Regions from separate parts of the Homo sapiens genome. Here region 2 is linked to region 1. Evidence: promoter capture Hi-C in 16 types of primary human blood cells and fetal thymus (Javierre and others, 2016). All regions are on one chromosome and are shown on one strand. Each heading gives the region's core, a stretch centred on a gene start or on the middle of the fragment in contact. The rest is flanking DNA. Distances are from core to core; before and after follow the strand shown.

Region 1 (4,235 bases), core at 1,192-3,691:
AGAGATGGGGTTTCTCCACACTGGTCAGGCTGGTCTCCAACTCCCGACCTCAGTTGATCTACCCACCTTGGCCTCCCAAAGTGCTGAGATTACAGGCCCAGACTCTTAATGGAGTAATAACTCCAGCTGGCACTGTGACTGTAGAGATTAAAATACCTAGTCTTTAAGAATTCTGCCTAGAGAGGGAGAAATGCAGGCAACACCTTATTGCTGTTTTCTGTGAAAAGGGTTATGCTAGAGGGATACTGGAAGTATACATATGAACTAGGAATATCCCTATAGATACCTAAAGAGAGTAGAAGAAAATAGAAGGGGTTAAGGGAGGCTTTTTGGAAAGAGATGAGACATGAGAGAAATGTTGAAGGATGTTAGGTGTTGGGGGGAACAAGGCATTCTGAAATTCTTTAAAAGTATTAATTCACAAGTGCTACAATTACTGTTCATGCTGACAGTTGTAAATTATTACTGCTGATAAACATTTTATCCTTGAAATGCTTTTTAAAAAGATTCTTGGCTGGGGACGGTGGCTCACGCCTGTAATCCCAGCACTTTGGGAGGCTGAGGTGGGAGGATCACGAGGTCAAGAGATCGAGACCATCTTGGCCAACATGGTGAAACCTCGTCTCTACTAAAAATACAAAAATTAGCCAGGCGTGGTTGTGCACGCCTGTAGTCCCAGCTACTCGGGAGGCTGAGGCAGGAGAATTGCTTGAACCCAGGAAGCAGAGGTTGCAGTGAGCTGAGATTATGCCACTGCACTCCAGCCTGGGCAACAGAGGGAGACTCCATCTCAAAAAAAAAAAAAATCATTAAAATACAGTAATTCAGGTTTATTAAGTCATTACCATTGGGTTACCTCACAAATAAACTAAGTTTAGATGCGAACTCAAAGATACTGAGACACTAATCCATTTCTTAAGCTGCTAAGTTAGCCTTCTTGAAACCTCACTTCGTAGCTCTGCAAACAATGTACTTTTGACATCCCAAGCTCACAGGAATAAAAAACCACCTGCCAGTTGTTTCCGTTTTCCACCTATGTCTAATTTATGTACTTATATTTATAAGAAACAAATCACTAAGTCTTATTTCATCCTTAGTTATGTTGTGTTTCTATCGATAACAGCATGAAGATTTCGGGGACCTGGACATTAAAATAAGTTTGAGTACTGGCTTTACAATCTACTAGGTGTGATCCGAGGCAAGTCAGTCTCTTCATGTTTCACTTCTTTCACTTGTAAACATCTATTCAGAAGTTGCTGTGAACTTGATATTTCCATGCTTATAAACTGATTTTTTGAAAAGAGCCTGGTACATAGGACGTGATAATAAATGAAAGCATTTGCTACTTTTGGAAAAACAAGCATGACAAGATAGTTTATATACTGTTGATCTTAAGCACAGTATATGCATCTTATTTTTAGCTAGTCTGACAGTGAGATAATAAAAAGAGTTATCTTTGACTTGCACTACGAGTAGAAGAATTCAACTTCAGTTTCTAGAAAGATGTATAAGAATTAAGAGTGGCAGTCTTCCTAGTCTCAACTGCCATCTTCCCACCAGGTGGTAAATTCGTCCAGAGAAGAAAATGAATTATTGCTATATGGGATTCTGCAGCAACTTCTGTGAACATAGGCTCATAATTTTTCACCATGGAGACTCAAGCTTTTTGGAGTCATAGTTGTTTTTGGGTCTATTTGCAGGCATGCATCCTTTGTCCAGAAATATACATAACATTTGGCACATGGACCTGGAGGTAAAAGAGGAGGAAGGCCTGAGGCTAGACACCACTCCAATAAGTACATTAAGCTCCTAGAAGGGCAATCCACCTTTGCAGAGAACTCTTAACTATTAAAACCTATAGCTTGTAAAGCAGCATTTTCAAAGTTAAGAGAAGAAGGTGGAAGGGTCTTGAGAGGCTACTGACTAAACAGATGAAAATGAAGGTATGGAGTTTGGTGCCAAAAGAAACTCCCCCCAAAAATCAAACAATAACACCAGAGTAAAGCCCCTAGGGCGAGATAAGGAGTTGCAACAAAACAAGCGGAAACTCGAGAAGCGCTAATGCTTCAAAGGGTCAATGACCACACATAATCTACGTAGCCAACGTGTTAAAACACACCAACGCATTTTTTTTTCCTAAACAAAGTAGGAAAGCGGACTTTGCATGAGGGGCGGGCTGCCGACCCAGCAGTCTTCCTCGGACAGTCCGTCCTGATTCTCTCTGGTTGGCCGTGGAGGGACCACATGGCTCCAAGGCCTCTCAGCTCCGGGCCCACACACCCCGGGCTGCCGCACAAACTCCAGCCCTAGTCTAGATCCACAACCCCTTCTCGAAGATCAACCGCGACCTGGGAGCCCCACTTCTTACCATAGCGAGGCCGGCGATGCCGCAGCCACATCACCCTTCCGGGGCTCAGGCGGAAGAGGCTGCATGTCCCGTCTGCCCTTCTCGCCCTCTCCAGCCGTCCGGTTGGGCTTGTCACGGCACCGCCTACCAAGACGGGCGGTTAAGACACTAGGATAGGCTCCTCTCCACCGGAAAAGGCGGGATTTAGATCACGTCCCGCAGGCCGGCGGAAGTAGCTGATACTCTCATTGGTTGCAAAACCTTGATCTGTGAAAGCGGGCGTTTTGGAAGATACCGGAAGTAGAGTCACGGAGAGGTAGGATCCGGAAGTGGGGCTGCCTCTTTAAATAACAAAAATCTGAGGTTCTGTTCTTTTTATCTTTTTGCTTTCTTTTTAAAAAAGTTCCCTGCTACTTACCCCTAGAACTCCACAATGCGAGAATCCCCCTCAATTTGTGAGCTCCCGCGACTTCCTCTTGTGGGCTTTTGGGGATGCTAGGGTTCTCGGCATTATCCTCAGGGTGCGACCTGTTCACCCCCTTTTCAGTTTCTCCGTTTGCATCTGAGGGATTCTTGGGAATGCGAAGCACTTTTGAAATGCTCTGTGTTGGTTGTGGGATTGGGAGGACGGTTGAATCCAGAGGGTAGTGTTGAGTAGGCTGTTTGAGCATTTCCCCAGCACTGGCCTGTCCTTTCAATCCCCAGATATTGGTAAACTGTGGGTTCCAACCAGGCATCGAGGCTGAAACGTACTAGGCAATTTGAGGTCAGGAAAGAACTTTCTGTGGTAACCAATGGGAAGGAACTGCCGTTTGCGGACTGCAGCGATTGATTAGGTACTTTAAAGAGATCAACTGGCAAGACAAATGACAAGGCAACTTTTAATCAGTAGTAGTATTTAGCTTTTTCTGATTTTAATTATCCCATTAGGTGAGGTTCTACTACACACACACGTTTTTCTTTCTGCATTTTATCGATGGAGAAACAGGCGCTTTGACATGTTTGAATTTGCGTAGTTCTTGGAATTCTAATAAAGTATTAGAAATGAGAGTTTTTCACTCTTTGCCCCCTTATGGCAAGCTTTTGGTTCTAAATGTGTGGTGTATTTTTTCTCAGGCAGGAGAGAGTTCTTTTCAGAATGTTTTCAATTTTTTATGGACTTAGAAGGTGGATAGAGAGAAAGAGAGAAGGTAACTCACGTGAGATTTTGGTTTATGAACTGTATTCGGCCTATGAGACCCTTTTGTATTTAGGGCAACACAATGATTAGAAGATTTGGGATTCTGCTATTTGTGTTTACATTGTTCACTAGGGCACACAAAGGTTTTGTTTTAAACTATAACTAACTTGATATTTGAGTCTGTTATATTGAATTGTCAAGAGTTGGTCAAATACACAAATTAGCAAGTATTTACTGGGTGCCTGCTTTATTCATGGATCTTCAGATTGCAGCATAGGAACAAAGATGGTCTGTTCCTTTAAGGAATTTAATAAGGTTGGGGGAGAGGGGAATAAGAAAGGTATTTAAAAGATACAGTACTCTCCACCTAAGGATAAAAAAAGTCTTTTAATGTTCTGTCTTGTAATTCCTTTATATTATACCTTTTAGGTCTTGCCATTCAAATTAAACAAACCTGGTTTAGTTATGGAAATTATGTTGTGCAATTTATCGAGCTTGGCTTTTAGGGCAGTAAATGTGTCTGTAGACATAACTGCCCTTGGTTTCATGTGAAGATTGTCTTGATCTTTGTTACATATAAAGGTAATACTTCTGTATGAAGCTCTGCTTCAGGCTACCTGTGAAAAGCATCAGAAAGCTTAACTTGTTAGAGATCACAATTGATTTGCTATATCTATATATTTTAATTAATTTTAGGCTATGACTTCT
Region 2 (4,235 bases), core at 500-2,999, 2.7 Mb before region 1:
ACAGTGGATTGTGAACTTCTTCATGGCAAAAAACATGAATTATTCACCTTTCTTCCAACTCCTAGCATAATGCACTGCACAGCAGAAGAAACACCCATAAACAAATAAAGGTAATACAGAGTTCAATTTCATTTGTGTGTGAAAGGCATTTGAGTTTTTAGTAGCTTGTTGATTTTCCTTATTACTCAGTTCCAAAGCCAAAAACTAAGCCACATTTCTTGTATTTAGTGTTATAAAGTAACATGAATCTACAAAGTAACATAACTACATGTTACAAAATAACATGAAACCACTAGCTAACATAGCTACAATTGTTGAATCTGTTAACAAAATAATATAATCAATGTATTATAAAATAACAATTGGTTTTAAAAAATAATTTAAGGTTCATGCCATACTGACCATTTCTTTTTGCTTATTGAATATATGTGTAGAGAGGGGTTGGACCAGGTTAATTGAATAAGCTTTCATTTATTATAATGGTTAAGGAAATCACCTTAATATAATAAAACACAATTTAATTCTAAAAATTCATGTAACTTTATCTCTATTTTCTTTGTCAATTCAAAAGCACTGCAAGATCTTGCAATGACTGCAAGATCAATAGGAAAAACAATGCAATTATGTTTAATAAACTGTCTGGGCTTGGTGGCTCACTCTTCTAATCCCAGCACTTCAGGAGGCCAAGGTCGGTGGATGGCTTGAGCCCAGGAGTTCCAGACCAGCCATGGGCAACATGGCGAAATCCTGCCTCTACAAAAAATACAAAAGTTAGCCAGGTGCAGTAGCATGCGCCTATAGTCCCAGGTATTTGGGAGACTAAGGCAGGAGAAACACTTGAGCCACAGAGGTTGAGGCGGCAGTGAGCCGAGATCGAGCCATTACACTCCAGTCTAGGCAATGGGAGTGAAACCCTGTACCAAACAAAACAAAACAACAAAAAAAAAATGAATAAGTGTTTGTTGAATTAAACACCAGTTATTCCTCTTTTTTACTGTTGATATAGAAAGCTCATAAGATTTATTATGTTTATCAACAAATCATTGCTATGTCATTAATTTATTGTTTGTCATATATTTCTAAAGAACTCAGAAAAAATATTGGTTATTTGAGCTTTTTGACTTTATAACTTTAAGTAAATACAGTTGCTGTATTAAATACAAGGATCTACAGCGATTATCTGAGCACCACAACTAAAACTTTCCTTAGAGAATTGAAAAGCCTCTCTCACAAGAACCAATACTAAATTATAGCACTTTGTACAAAAGGAGAATGGGCTGTTGAGAGTGTGTTCTTCAGTTTGCTGTTTTGATAAAGGCCTTGACCAGTAAGTGTTGCTGTACTTAACAAAGTAGTTATAACAGCCTGTACTTAACAAAGTAGTTATAACAGCAGGGAGAAATCCTGAACTTCAGGTTTTGTTTATGGATGAGCAACAATGTTCATACTGCGAGAACACCTGGTTTACTTATAAGATAAAGGCTGAAAACAGTAGGTGATCAATAAATGACAGCTATTTATAAAGTGGTTCTTAGTAATAAGTGATGATACGTGTGTCTGGTGCAACTGAACAATAGGAATGGAGCATTTTTCTGTGCCAGAGTACAACTGACCAGCTGTCTGCTCCATAAAACTGGTCATTGTAGATTTTTTATCTCTAATCTAGTTAACTTTGGGTACTACTTGGTACAAAGTTTAATTTTCATTGGTATAGGGCCTTATGTAGAAGTTCAAAACCCAGTTCTGAATTTCTGAACTCACATTTGTGCCGCTGTGGTCATCAGAAAAAAAAAAAAAAAAGGAACTGTTTACTAGGAATTGGAAGAAATATACTAGCTTTAAACCACTCACTGGCTAAATCAGGGTTTCTCAACCTTGGCACTGTTGATATTTTAGGCTGAAAACTTCTTTGTTGTTGGGGGTTCTCCTGTGAATTGCAAGACAGTTAGCGGCATCCCTGGCCTGTATCTATTAGATATCAGTAGCATTCTTTCAGTGGTGACAACCAAAAATGCCTCCAGAGATTGTCAAACGTCCTCTGGGAGGCAAAATCACCCCTCACCTCCACAGAGAACTATTGGGCTAAAGTAGTAGTCATTGATTTGAACTTTGGTTTGTTGGTTGATTTCATCTATTTTTACTACTTTATAGATCAGAAGTTTTGTGGAACCCAAATTAAATACTCTTTCAAAGCATAATTAGGAAAGGTTATTATAATTCTAAACATCTACTAAAAGTATTGCAATTGCTTTGTTAGCAGATTAAATTTTTAGTAGACATTTGGCATTAAAAGGTAATCAAAGGCTACAAATTTTATATGAACAAACTTATTAATTCTCCTTAAAAAACAAAAACAGAAACAAAAACAGAGCAAACGAGTCTTCATATAGTGACAAACATGTGGAGTGGTCATCAAGTCCCTGTATCTTATTCTCAGTTTAGTAGACTAAGAAATTCAGTTTTAAAATGTATTTGCAAGTAATTGTGCTCCAGGGAACTTATACTTGCATTAGCCAAATTCATAGGCTACTGATATAACAACATGGATGTAACTGATCAATTTATAAAAAGAAATATAACCATCAAGAATAGCAATTGTTAGGCTGGCACAGTGGCTAATGTCTGTAATCCCAGCACTTTGGGAGGTTGACTACCTGATTACCTGAATTTGAATTCTAATTGGGAGGATTGCTTGGGCCCAGAAGTTTGAGACCAGTATAGGCAACATAGTGAAACCTTGTCTTTAAAAAAATAAAAATAAAAATTATCTGGGCATGGTGATGCACGCCTGTGGTCCCAGCTACTCTGGAGGCTGAGGTAGGAGGATCACTTGGGCCCCAGGAGTTGGGGCTGCAGTGAGCCATGATCCAACCACTGCATTTCAGCCTGAGTGATATAGTAAGATCCTGTCAAAAAAAGAAAAAAAAAAGAATAACAGTTATTCATCATTTACAGTCAGTGCTTCAGTTAAGTACTTTATGTGGATTATCTCAATCAATGTATTAGTTCTATTAGCATTTGACTACAGGAGCATCAAGCTTAGAAAATTTAGGCCACACAACTAATAGGTTATAGAATTAGAATTCAAATTCAGGTAATCAGACTCTAAAGACCATACTTGAAATGACAGGGGAAATGGATTCTTAGGTTTCCTGGTCAACTTATCACACTTGTTACATTAGAGGTTTTTTTCTTTTTCCCCAGAATATAAAGGTAATATATAGATGTTGTAGAAAATGTAGACTGTCCAGGATAATAACATCTACATTCTAATCAGATAGACATGACTACTATCAACATTTTGATATACTTTCTTCACTCTTTTACATACATTGTATACTATAGCTGACCTCATACTACATAGGCAATGTTAAATATTTTTAAATATTTAAAATGTTTTTTCATGAGGTAATTTCCTCAGGCCATTAAAAATTCTTTGTAAACATAATTTTAATAGTTTTAATCACATACATGCAGTAATTATTTTAACCATTCTCTTAATGGTGGATTTTCGACTTTTATCAATTTACTTACTATGGTTAAGTATCTTTCCATAGAGATCTTCGTCTTCTGGACTACCTTCTTATAACTTCCAAAAGAGAAATGATCAAATTGGGTCATGTGAACACTCATAAGGTTCTTGATATGATTTGACAAATAACTTTCCAAAATCTTTGTCCCAATTTATATCCCTCCCAGGGTATAAGTGTCCACTTCACTCTTCTGTCACCAATCGAGTTTATTCACATTTTAAACAGATTGGGTAATTAGATGCCAGACAACCTCTTTTTTGTCTCTGTTTATTATTAATGACTTTGAATATTGATTGGTAAAATGTGTAGTAGGCATTTAAATTTCATATTTTGTGAACTGACCATTGTATATACTTTCCCCATTGATCTATTTAAGGTGTTTGTGTCTTTTTTCTATTCTCTTTACCCTCACACTTTACCGTATAAATACTTCTGTCCCCAGTATGCATTTGTATATGTGAGTCTCTGCTACTAGACTGTGGTTCCCCATGGGCAGTGGCCCCATTTTATTTTATCTGTGAACAATGCCTAACACATAGTAGGAAAAAGGCATACTGTAGTTTGTAGAATTATTCTTAGGATTAAATGAGATAACGTAAGCAAAGCATCTAACACACTGTCACAAAGCAGATGCTCAATACACACATTACTTTAGGCAATCAAAAGTTTGGCTATTTCATTTTGTTGTTTAGGAAAACCAAG

The links. The method cuts DNA at HindIII sites, captures the fragments that hold promoters and counts their contacts. A CHiCAGO score of 5 or more calls a contact.
Region 2: a contact is called between a fragment that was not itself captured here and the fragment with the promoter of TMEM167A in region 1, in 3 of 17 cell types (total CD8 T cells, total B cells and naive B cells). The highest score is 9.7, in total CD8 T cells.

Annotation. Positions count from the first base shown.
Region 1 is chr5:83,074,953-83,079,187 of GRCh38, forward strand. It overlaps TMEM167A (transmembrane protein 167A), which reads right to left and starts at 2,442. Exons shown (of 4, transcript NM_174909.5): 1 at 2,369-2,442. The coding sequence starts at 2,371. XRCC4 (X-ray repair cross complementing 4) reads left to right here and starts at 2,595. Exons shown (of 8, transcript NM_003401.5): 1 at 2,595-2,663. RefSeq lists enhancers at 1,558-2,523, 2,180-2,449, 2,524-3,489 and a silencer at 2,510-2,599. The HindIII fragment of the contact is 1,765 bases long and covers 1,661-3,425 here.
Region 2 is chr5:80,402,162-80,406,396 of GRCh38, forward strand. No RefSeq gene overlaps it. Among named protein-coding and RNA genes, the nearest start is that of ZFYVE16, 3.8 kb to the right of the region's middle. The HindIII fragment of the contact is 2,574 bases long and covers 463-3,036 here.